Regions from separate parts of the Homo sapiens genome. Here all the other regions are linked to region 3. The links are contacts of gene promoters, found by promoter capture Hi-C in human tissues and cell types (Jung and others, 2019). All regions are on one chromosome and are shown on one strand. The core of a region is centred on a gene start or on the middle of the fragment in contact, and the rest is flanking DNA. Distances in the headings are between cores, read along the strand shown.

The links. The method cuts DNA at HindIII sites, captures the fragments that hold promoters and counts their contacts. A contact is called where the count stands out against the background at its distance.
Region 1: a contact is called between a fragment that was not itself captured here and the fragment with the promoter of AGPAT3 in region 3, in 7 of the 25 tissues and cell types used here (bladder, dorsolateral prefrontal cortex, hippocampus and 4 more).
Region 2: a contact is called between a fragment that was not itself captured here and the fragment with the promoter of AGPAT3 in region 3, in 5 of the 25 tissues and cell types used here (dorsolateral prefrontal cortex, hippocampus, lymphoblastoid cells and 2 more).

What each region holds. Positions count from the first base shown.
Region 1 is chr21:44,097,481-44,101,595 of GRCh38, reverse strand. TRAPPC10 (trafficking protein particle complex subunit 10) reads right to left here. Exons shown (of 23, transcript NM_003274.5): 21 at 3,062-3,239. Among named protein-coding and RNA genes, the nearest start is that of PWP2, 7.9 kb to the left of the region's middle. The HindIII fragment of the contact is 4,324 bases long and covers 1-3,876 here.
Region 2 is chr21:44,006,610-44,010,661 of GRCh38, reverse strand. No RefSeq gene overlaps it. Among named protein-coding and RNA genes, the nearest start is that of TRAPPC10, 3.7 kb to the left of the region's middle. The HindIII fragment of the contact is 5,883 bases long and covers 1-4,052 here.
Region 3 is chr21:43,862,880-43,866,777 of GRCh38, reverse strand. AGPAT3 (1-acylglycerol-3-phosphate O-acyltransferase 3) reads right to left here and starts at 1,555. Exons shown (of 10, transcript NM_020132.5): 1 at 1,433-1,555. RefSeq lists silencers at 797-1,116, 1,237-1,586, 2,137-2,496. The HindIII fragment of the contact is 11,781 bases long and covers 1-3,898 here.

The sequences.
Region 1 (4,115 bases), core at 465-2,964, 230 kb before region 3:
AGGATCTTGATCCCGTGTGTTTGAAGTTTCCATGGGAAGCTCTGCTCTGGTCGGCCACGGACCTGGGTACTAGGGTTTTGGCACCCACTGAGTGGAACGCTTGCTCACCCTTCAGGCGTAATTGCATAAGCTGAACCAGTTCAGATGTCTGCGGTGTTGGCTGTCATTTCTGCTGTTGTCAGTTCCCTCCAATTAGGGCATGAACAAGGTGAATTTTTTCCTTGAAAATGGATGTGGATGGTCTGCTTGCTATGGCCTTAATCTTCAGCATCATCTCGTCCCTTCTTAAAACAAGATATCCATTTGCAAACTACTAATTCTTTGGGGCACTGTCCAAAGAATTTCATAAACTTTTCATAAAGCATCAATGATTTCACCATTCTTCCACCCAAGCTTCACCATAAATTTGATGTTGGTTGTTTTGTTGTTGTTGTTGTTGTTGAGGCGGAGTTTTGCTCGTTGCCCAGGCTGGAGTGCAGTGGCGCAATTTTGGCTCACTGCAACCTCCGCCTCCTGGGTTCAGGCAATTCTCCTGCCTCAGCCTCCCAAGTAGCTGGGCTTATAGGCGCCTGCCACCACGCCCAGCTAATTTTTGTATTCTTAGTAGAGATGGGGTTTCGCCATATTAGCCAGGCTGATCTTGAACTCCTGACCTCAGGTGATCCGCCTGCCTCAGCCCCCCAAAGTGCTGGGATTACAGGCGTGAGCCACTGCACCCGGCCAATGTTGGTTCTTGATTTAATTTTAGCAGAATTCATGTTGCTCTGATAGGGGCTCTTTTAAAACTGATGTCTTATCCTTCTTAGTGCCTCAAACTAGATCCTGCTCAGTGAGTAGGAGCTTATTTTGGTGCAAAAAGTGTTGAAATCCATGCATAGTTTTTTCATAACGTATCTTCCATGATTTTTTTGAAGACCCCTTGTATGTAAAGCACTTAGTACCACTCCTGGGACATGGTAGTGTCTTAATATATGGCAGGTGTTATTATTAACATTAATTATTAAAACACAACCATCATGTAATTCAATGCAATTCAAACACTTAAGTGATCATTCACTGGGACTAGCCCTGGAGATATGAAAGTAAGCAAGACAGGATCCTTGCCATCCAGTAGCAGTAGACCTGGTAAAGAGGTCACAGCTTCCCATCATGAGGATACCGAGCAACCGCCCAGGGGGAGTGAGTGACCAGAAGGCCACGAGCAGCAGAGAAGGGCTCAGGGAGGTGGACATCCTGTAGTTGGGGATGGGGGACCTTTGAGGACAGGAGCTACTACAGGACATGCAGAGGCCCTAGGAGTGTCAGGAGGAAGGCAAAGGAGTGACAGTTCTCAGAGTGTGGCTCTCAGGGCACCCGCAAGCTCATAGCTTTCACACTGCTGCCTTTCTACGCTGCTGACCTCGCGCTGCTGGGGCAACCACAATGGCATGAACTCGGGCCAGACTGCGCAGTCATGTCACTCATGTTCTTTACTACCATGAACTCACAGCAAAAAAACAAAAAAAAAAATGCCACGCTTCACAAAGCAGTCAAAAGTGCTCATTTTATTAAATTCAGCTCCTGAGTAGACTTTTTTTTAATTGTGAAATGTTTATAGACTCACAAGAAGTTGTAAAAGTAGTAGAGGGGTCACATACCTTCATCACCAGCTTCACCCAACTGTGCCATCTCGTGTAACACAGGAAGCTGACACTGGTACCATACAGTGACCCAGGCTGCAGACCCCACTGGATTTCACTACAGAGTGAACCAGGCTGCAGACCCCACTGGATTTCAATACAGATAGAACCAGGCTGCAGACCCCACTGGATTTCACTACAGAGTGGACCAGGCTGCAGACCCCACTGGATTTCAATACAGCTAGAACCAGGCTGCAGACCCCACTGGATTTCACTACAGAGTGGACCAGGCTGCAGACCCCACTGGATTTCAATACAGATAGAACCAGGCTGCAGACCACACTGGATTTCACTACAGAGTGGACCAGGCTGCAGACCCCACTGGATTTCAATACAGATAGAACCAGGCTGCAGACCCCACTGGATTTCACTACAGAGTGAACCAGGCTGCAGACCCCACTGGATTTCAGCAGCTTTCGCAGGCATTCTTTGGGTCTAATTCTATGGCATTTGTCACATGTGTAGATTCGTGTAACAACCACAGCGGCCCTGGCCCAGAACTCTCCATTACCACAGAGGACGGCCTCCTGCTGCCTCCCACTGCTCCGTGGAACACTGACCCGCTCTCCTTCTGAGGCTGGCATTTTGAGGATGTCATTTAGAAATGGAATCACACAGTACACCTCCTTATAGGACTGGCGTTTTTCTCTTAGTATAATGCCCTTGAGATCCAACCACAGCACTGCGTGTGTCAACAGTCCCTTCTGTTTCACTGCTGAGGAGGAATCAGATGTGCCAGTTTAACCGCTCTCGAGCTGAAGGACGTTTGAGTTATTTCCATTCTTGAGTGCTTGTGTTCTTGACATTCTCTGGGTCTCTGCTGCAGAATGACAGCTGGCTCAGGGAAAGCACACGGGGAGCGCTCGGTGCTGCGAGCTGAAATAGCCGCTGTTTTCACAGAACGCCCTTTTCACTTGCAAGAGCGCTGGGGAAGCTAGTTATTCAGTGTTGGGTATTTGGTAGACGTCTGATTAAAAATGAATGATGTAAGCCTGTCACTTCAAAGAAAACAACACGACTATTTGCTGCCAATGATGCCATCTGAGACTTTAAGCAAAAATCAGAATTTTGGAAAACTTACACTTGCCACTGTGAGCTTGAAAGAGTTCTGATGCTCCAAGCCCTCCCTGAGAGATCACAAATGCAGATTTTAAAAAAATATTGTCAAACGAAAGGTGCCCACATTTGGAAGATCTGCACAACTCAGGAAACCATGTTTCCCACATGACTAATGGCACAGGGTGTAACGCTATGATGCCTGGGTAAAAGAGCCATTCAAAATGCAAGATAGGCTGAGTGCAGTGCCTCACACCTGTAATCCCAACACTCTGGGAGGCCAAGGCGGGAGGACTGCTTGAGCCCATGGGTTCGAGACCACCTACCTTCATACATAAGCTTTGTCGAAAAATGCTCATCAGATTCAGTCAGTGCTTCATCTTTATCCACCTCCAAGAGGTCTGAGAGCCTCGTGATCAAAACCTCCAGGGAGCAGAGGGAGCCTGTTCTGCAATACTCCATTCCCGAAGGGGGAAAGATCTCAGCCTTCACGTTGTATAATGTCTGGGCAGGAAAGGGAGAGAATAGAAAGGAAATGTACCTAAGTGGCCTCAAGAAATGCAACTAGAGGAAAAAGCAGAGCTGCCCACAGACCCTGGAGAGCTGAGGATAGACACCTATCTGCTCGGCTGGCCTTAGAGCAACTGTCGCCACTCACTCTCAATAATTCCCACTGGAGATGCAATGTTTTCGGAAGTCCTACACTCCGAACCTTAACATCCTTCTTTAAATTATGAACATTTTCAACCACAGGAAGAAAGGATAGCACAGAGCCCTTCCAGCCGCCTATCACCCAGATCCTGAGATCTCAGCATCTTGCTGCCTCAGCATCCTCTTATCAAGCCATGGACATTTCTGTATTTGCCTGAGGTAATTTAAAGCGAATTTCAGGCCAGGCATGGTGGCTCACGCCTGTAATCCCAGCACTTTGGGAGGCCGAGGTGGGCAGATCACTTGAGGTCAGGAGTTCGAGACCAGCCTGGGCAACATGGTGAAACCCCGTCTCTACTAAAAATACAAAAATTAGCCGGGTACAGTGGCAGGTGCCTGTAATCCCAGCTACTTGGATTACTTAGCAGGAGATTCCCTTGAACCCAAGAGGCAAAGGTTGCAGTGAGCTGAGATCGCACCACTGCACTGTAGCCTGGGTGACAGAGCAAGACTCTTGTCTAAAAAAATAAAATAAAATAAAAAAATAAAGCAAATTTCAGACAACCTGTTATTTTGCCCCATCTGCTTCAGTATGCATTACTAAACACTAAGGCCTTTTTCTTACCAAAACACAATGCTATTATTACAACTAGCAAAAGCAACAGGAATTCCTTGGTATAACCCAATTCAGTCCATAATCTACTTTGTCCGTGTTTTCTTTCCATAATC
Region 2 (4,052 bases), core at 1,353-3,852, 140 kb before region 3:
GGAGCAGCTGTAAATACAGATGAAGCTTTGCTCCCTGGCCTGAAGCTCACCTCCTGCTGTGTGGCCTGACCGGTATGTGTCTGTGGCCCTGGCGGTCGGGGAGCCCTGATTTACAGAGCAGCCACAATGAGGAAGACACTTGTGCTCAAGAACAAGGAGGAAGAGCATTAAACTGTAATCGAAGAAGCAGAATTGCAAACTTGCTACTGACTCAGTCTCCAGGGCTTAACTTCACCCTTGGCATCATAAGTTTAGAGAGTCCTGAAGTTTTTTTTAACAAAATGTATATATGAGATAGTTTGGGTGTGAACACAGCTGCTAAATGTGTGAACATAGTGTAGTGTGGTGCACTGTAATGGTGTGAGAGGCAAGAGACCAGACTTCTGGGCAGCTAAAGCAGCAGGCCGGCAAGGCAGGGCACTGGAGGGGAAGAAGCTTAGCAAGAGTGGGGAGCCGAAGTCGATGTAGGGTTCCCTGAAAGTCCTTGGCCTAGGCTGGACTACACGTGTGGGACGACTCTATGGGTTTACCAGGAAGCGGCTGTTACAGAGTTGAGGATGGCACAAAGACTAGAGGTCCAGTAGTGCTACAGGAAAGGACTTTCCGTTTTGTTTTCTTTTCAGACAGTCTTGTTCTGTCACCTAGGCTGGGGTGCAGTGGTTTGATCGTTATCTCAGTGCAGCCTAGAACTTCTGGGCTCAAGTGATCCTCCCACCTCAGCCTCCCAAGTAGTTGGGACCACAGGTGAGTGCCACCACGCCCGGCTAATTTTTTCTTTTTTTGTAGAGAGAGGGTCCCACTCTGTTGCCCAGGCTGGTCTTGAACTCCTGGCCTCAAGCAGTCCTCCTGCCTAATCCTCCCAAAGTGCTGGGATGACGAGTACGAGCCACCGTGCCCAGTCAAGACCTTTTTAATGCCATTAACACTGAGGACATTGAGCTGAGACACTAGATTGAGAATCACATTCCCAGGGGTCAGCAAACGACCTATAAAGGGCCCAGATAAGTATTTTAGGTTGTGTGGGCCACATGCAGTTTTTGTTTCATATTTTTGCTTGTTTTTTTTTTTTTTTTAAACAACTCTTTAAAAATATAAAAGCCATTCCTGGCTTTAAGTGCTGTACAAAAACAGGCCATCAACACATGTGGCTTGTGAGCCAGAGGTTGCCAGTCCCTCCCCTAGAATAAGGACTACTCCAGGCCCGCCTTAACAACGTCTAAAGCAAAACCCTGACCCGATCCACAAGACGGTCAGAGTTTGGAGGTTAAGTCCTGCCAAGTAAGAGGGGCCTGGGAGACACCTGGGACATTGCTCAGTAAACAGAGCCTAAAGCTAAGCCTACACAGCCCAGCATGGTACGTCCAGTAATGGAACTACAAACTAGAACGAAAGTCAGGATTTTTCAGTGGAAGAGCACCCTGAGTCTCCCTCATTTGTTATTTATCAGTGTTGAATATACACTAAAAAAACAAAAATCACTAAACATACAAAGAAAGAGGAAAACGTAAGCCATAGTTAAGAAAAAAAAAAAGCAGTTAACAGAAACCAATCCCCCTACAATGAACCAGATTCTGTATTTACAAAGATTCTAAAGCAGCTCTACATATGTCCAAAGGAGGCTGGGCACGGTGGCTCACACCTGTAATCCCAGAAATTTGGGAGGCCGAGGTGGGCAGATCACTTGAGCCCAGGAGTTTGAGATCAGCCTGGCCAACATGGTGAAACCCCATCTCTACTAAAAACACAAAAATTAGCTGGGTGTGGTGGCGCACGCCTGTAGCCCCAGCTACTCGGAAAGCTGAAGCAGGAGAATCGCTTGAATCCGGGAGGTGGAGGTTACAGTGAGCCAAGATAGTGCCACTGCACTCCAGCCTGGGTGACAGAGCAAGACTCCATCTCAAAATAAATAAAAATAATATGTCCAAAGGATTAAATGAAAATATTGTCTTAATGAGTAAAGAATCAGAAATTCACAGCAGAATAACAAAGTATCTAAAAGAATCAAAAGAAAAGTCTAGAACTGAAAAGTACAATAACAGAAATGAAAATTTCACTGAATTGGATTAACAGATTGGAGAAAACAGGAGTTTGGGATCTTGAAGGCAGATGGATAGAAATTATTTAATCTGAAGAAGAGAAAAAAGTTGAAGAAAAGTGGAGAGAACCTCAGAGACCTATGGGACAGTATGAAATGGCCAAAAGCATGTGTGATCGGAGCTCCAGAAGGAGAGTATGAGTCTAGGAAGGAAACATTTTTGCAAAATGATGGCTCCAAATCCAAACACGTGGTGAAAAATACTGATTTACAGATCAAGAAATTCAGCAAAACCTGAAGAGAACACATACAAAGAAAATTACATGCAGGCATATCATACTCAAACTGGTGAAATAGATCAAGAGAAAAAAAATGTTTTGGTGGGGGGACAGGGTCTTGCTCTGTCGCCCAGGCTGGCGTGCAGGGGCACAGTCACGGCTCACTGTAGCCTCAGTCTTCTGGCTTCAAGCCATCCTCCCACTACAGCCTCCCAAGTAGCTGGGACCACAGGCACGTACCACCATGCCAGCTAATTTTTTAATTTTTTGTAGAGACGGCAGGGGGTCTTCCCCAGGCTGGCCTTGAACTCCTGACCTTAGGTGATCTGCCCACCTTGGCCTCCCAAAGTGCTGGGTTACAGGCATAAGCCACTGCACCCGGCCCTTCTCATAATTTCTTTAAGAGACCACTGACTGTTTAAAACAAACAATAGCTTGTGATACTTCTACAGTGTGTGTAGAAGTAAAAGGTAAGGACAGTGTGAAGGATGGATGGTGAGAGGTAACCCACTGATAAGCTCCTCACACTGTGAAGTGTGGAACTCCAGGTGTGAGGTGCAAGATGCAAAGGGTTATGTATGAAGAGGGAAGACTGAAGTGATACAATATTGACCCTACATTAAATTTGATATGTGAGGCATACGTAGTCTGTGCCCAGGAGAAAAAGCACTAGGGAAAAAATGAACAAAAGGGGTTTGGCTAAGAAGCCAATAAAGAAAAGAGAAATAATAGAAAATATCTGACTAATCCAAAAGAAGTCAGGGAAAGAACAACAGGAGAAAGACAGAAAGGACCAGTTATGTCAGGAAAAGACACTCAGCGCTCATTAGACATCAGGGAAATGCAAGTTAAAATGAAAATGAGATGCCACTTCACATGTACTCAAATCGATAAAATTTAAATTTATAATTAAAAACCCTGACGAGGCCAGGCACGGTGGCTCATGCCTGTAATCCCAGTGCTTTGGGAGGCTGAGGTGGGCCTCAGGAGTCAGGAGTCCGAGACCAGCCTGGCCAACATGGTAAAACCCCGTCTCTACTAAAAATACAAAAAATTAGCCAGGCGTGGTGGCGTGCACCTGTAATCCCAGCTACTTGGGAGGCTGAAGCAGGAGAATCGCTTGAACCCGGGAGGCGGAGGTTGCAGTGAGCCGAGATTGCACCACTGCGCTCCAGCCTGGGGAACAGAGCTAGACTCTGTCTCAAAAAACAAAAAATAAGTAAATAAAAAATAAAAACCCGACAATACCAAGTGTAGACTCCAAGCCGAGGAATATCTATGTCTTTGTACTGTTCTCACAGAGAACTGAGTCCAGCTGCTCTGAGAAGACAGACACTAGCCATTCCCCTTCCCGAAGACGTGGACACAGCGTTGTGCGGCTGGATGGGCTCCCACGTTAGGGAGTGTTCTTTCTGGAGGAAGGGAGGCAAAGGCAGAATCCCCTCCTCCAATCCCACCGGCTCTGGTCCAGGCAGCCTTTGGTGCGTGGGCAGTAAGTGGACTGCAAGCCTATTTTCCCTCTGAGCAGACCTATAAGAGATTTTTTTTTTCCACTTGGGAATTTAGAAAATGCTTGAATTCAGCACAAACACTGGTTTGGCACTTTCTTTTAATGAATCATGGTGAAATGATGCTAGTCCTGTCAATCGATGTTCATTCTTTTTTTTTTTTTTTTAGTACCTTTTTTCATGAGGCAGCATTTGGGGTGTTTTTTATTTTGTTTTATTGTTTTTGAAAAG
Region 3 (3,898 bases), core at 306-2,805:
AATATTTAAGGCCCCTACACCTTCTAAGGCCAAGGGGCCCTGTTCTGTCTGAATGTCAATGGCATGCAGCTGCTTTTTAGACAATGTCCTCAAGAAGATACTTAAGACTAACCAGAAATGGATACAAGAAGCGAGTTGTAACAGGCACAGGCTAACGCCGAACTCTGTGGGGGAGGAGGATTGGTTGGAAAGAGGGAGGGGGGGCGGCAAAGAAGTGGCCAAATCAAGAGAGTGCTCAGCATCCTCGGGAGACCCCTCTGAAGCTTTCAAACTGAGAAGACGAAGTTCAGCAATTCCTAAGCGAGTCGAGTCGGAGCAGCCGCGCCTGCAATTTAAAAGCTGCAGGATCCTGGGTCCCTCTAGCAGCCTGGGCCCGCCGCCCGCCCCACCTCCCAGCCCCCAGCAGGCTCTCGGCGTTGGCTTTCATTTTTAATAAGAGCCGCATGCTCATCACCCTCTGTCTGGAGGCCAACAGCCCACATCTTTCTTCTACTAAGATCATGTTTCCCAGGAAAAAGAACCCAACTGCTCAAGTATTCTCCTAGACAAAGCTTTTAAAATTGTGCTTTTTTTTTTTTAAAGGTCTGGGAAGCCATTTATAAAAGCATTTTCCCCATGTCACTAAACTTCTCTCAAAGTTAAAAAAAAAAAAAAAAACACTGCACCATTTTTAACTGCCTTCAAATACTAATAACCCTCCTTTCCTAAGTACTTGGGACCAATGTTCCAAGGGTCCTGGGGTGGCCAGGAGTGGGTTTTCGCCCCCACGGCTCTTGCCCCCGGACTGACCCCATCCCCTGACCCGCCCGGTGCAAACGCGCCGCCGGTCTCCGGGCCGAACCCACAGCCAACCCCGGGCCCCGCAGCCCTCCCCGCGCGGAGCGGCAAAAGTGAAACTGCTCCCTTGGCCTGGGCGCGCGAGGAGGAGGCCCCTGGGGGGGGTCCCGGGTCCGCCGCGCCCCGAAACCAGGCGGCGGGCGCGTCCTGTCCACGGGGGAGCCGAGCGGGGCCCGGAGCAGAGTCCAGGACGGAGGGATGGGACGTCCCCGCGGGAACCCACTCGCCCTCCCTCGGCCCGGCCCGGGCCCCTCCCGGGCGCCCCGAACCCCCGGGCCTCCCCGCTGGGCCCAGCGCCACCGAGGCTGCTGCGGGAAGCGGCCGGGGCCTCGCGCTGGACCAGGCCGCCGGGGAGGCCGGGGTTGCGGGGGGCGCACAGGACCCGGGCCCAGACCTCCTCCCGGCCCCGCGCCTTCCCAGGCCCCGCGCCCCGCGGAGCGCGGCCGGCCCATTGCGGCGCGGGGCCCCGGGCGGCCCGAGGTCGGACGGCTGGGGCAGGGGCGACCTCCGGCGGCGGGAGGGCGACCTCGGGCGGCGGCGGGGCGTGGGGGAAGAGGGGGGCGGCCCGACCTCGGGTGGGGGCCTCGGTGCTCACCTGCAGCCGCCGCCACCTGCTCGTCGCGCGGGCGTCCCCGGCGTCGCCTCCGCGGCCCCGCTCTGGCCGCCGCGCTCCTCGGCCCTGGGCCCGGCCCGGCCCTGCGTCGGGGCCTCAGCGAGTGCGGCGCCCGCCGCCCCCGGCCCCCATCCCGCCGCCCTCCGCCCTCCGCCCTCGGCCGCGCCGCCGCCGCCACTTCCTGTGCGCGGCGATCCCACAGTTCCGCCGGCGCGCGCGGGGCGGCCGAGGGACACGCTGGGGGGACACGGGGGAAGGACGCGGGGGGGGACGCGGGGGGACGGCGCGGGGGGGGACGCGGAGGGGACACGGGGGCGACACGGCGGGACACGCGCGCGGAGAGAGGTGTGGGCCGAGGGCGCCGGCGGGGCCGGGCGCGGAGCCTGCGTGGGATCCGCTAACGGACGGGGCTGGGGCCCGGGCTGGGGGAGGGGGCGGGCCGGGACCGCGGGGGGCGCGGGGATCAGGGGGGTCGGGGCTGAACGGGGGGAGGCGGCGAAGGACCAGGCTGGGGTCCCGCGAGGGCTCCCCCGGACCGGGTCGGGGGCAGAGGGGGCCGGGGCGCGGGGTGGGGCCGGGAGGGGCCTCCGAGCTCTGCCTGGGCCCCGCCATCTCCCCTGCCGGGGTCTCCTGCGGGCGCCGGGGAAGTTTCGCGCGCGAGCTCCTGCCCTGGTCGGCCGGGGCTTAGGGTCGCCGTCAGGGGTCGCCGCGCGGCGGGCTCGGTGGGGACGGCCCTGCGCGCAGCGGCTCCGCGGAAGGATCGCGTTTCGGCCCACGTGCCGCGCCCTTGGACTTATTCATAGTTGGCACCCGGCTGGCAACACTGTATCGACACTTGACCGTGGCGGGGGTGGGGGTCGCCCCGGGGCTGCCCTGCGAACCCCCGCGGGCGCTGACGCCGTCCCCTCCAGACCGCGGAGCCCTCTCAGCCCCAGGACAGCGGCTGCCGTCCCCCCTCCCTTGCACCTGGCCAGCGGCCGATCCCAGAACCTGCGGAGGCCGCGCAGGTGCCGCTGTCAGGGCAGGGCCCGCTGCGGGCTCCGCCTCCTGCGCCCGGTACCTTGTGTGACCTGGCGCCTGCTCAGGTCCTCAGGCCCCGGCTGGACTTGCTGAGCTTGGGTGGGCTTCATTTGAAAACCATTTAAAATACCAAGTACTGGTACTGTCTACTGTGCCCCTTTTTTTCCTTTTTTTTTTTTTTATTTTTATTATTATTGAGACAGGGTCTTGCTCTGTCGCCCACCCTGGAGTGCAGTGGTACAATCATAGCTCGCTGAAGCCTTGAACTCCAGGGCTCAAGTGATCCTCCCACCTCAGCCTCCCAAGTAGCTGGGACCACAGGCACACACCACCATGTCTGGCTAATTTAAAAAAAATTTTTTTTGTAGAAATGGGGCCTCACGGTGTTGCCCAGGCTGATCTCGAACTCCTGAGCTCAAGTATTCTCCCACCTCCTCCTCTCAAAGTGCTGGGATTACAAGTATGAGCCCCCGCACCCAGCTTGCACCTCCCTTTAAGCCTCCTCAAATTATTTCAGAAAATACTTAGACTAAAATAAAATGAAAGTACCGTGCACCTGTCCTACTCACAGTTCCCTTATTCTTGAAAAAGGAGTTAAGATTTGCAAAGCTCGTGGAATTCACCATTTGTAAAACCTCTCACCCCTCATGTCATTTTGGGTAATCTGTGCCACAGATAAATTCTCACAGGCACCACGGGATGTGTGGATACAGGGATGTGCTGACTTACAGCTATACCTATAATCACAGGAAGCCTGAGAACAACCAGACACTTGGTTAAATAAACTCTAGAACATTCATTTAGCATTTTTAATTTAAAACATTTTCTAAAGTTGTGATGTGATAATTCTGTGTACACAGATAGGATATAGTCTCCAAGATCTGTTAAATTAAAAAATAAAAATAGTGCAGAGCAGTGAATATACAATGATGTGCTTTATTTAAAACAAACAAACAAACAAAAAATGGCCAGGCACGGTGGCTCACACCTGTCTGTAATCCCAGCACTTTGGGAGGCTGAGGCTGGTGGATCACGAGGTCAGGAGTTCAAGACTAGACTGGCCAAGATGGTGAAACCCCGTATCTACTAAAAATACAAAAAAAAAATTAGCCTGGCGTGGTGCAGGCGCCTGTAATCCCAGCTACTCGGGAGGCTAAGGCAGAGAACTGCTTGAACCTGGGAGGCAGAGGTTGCAGTGAGTCAAGATTGTGCCACTGCACTCCAGCCTAGGTGACACAGTGAGACTCTATCTCAAAAAAAAAAAAAAAAAAAAAGACCAGATGCAGTGGCTCACACCTGTAATCCCAGCACTTTGGGAGGCCAAGGCGGGTGGATCACTTGAGGTCGGGGGTTCCAGACCAGCCATGGTGAAACTCCACCTCTGCTAAAACAAGATACAAAAATTAGCTGGGCGTGCTGGTGCTCTCT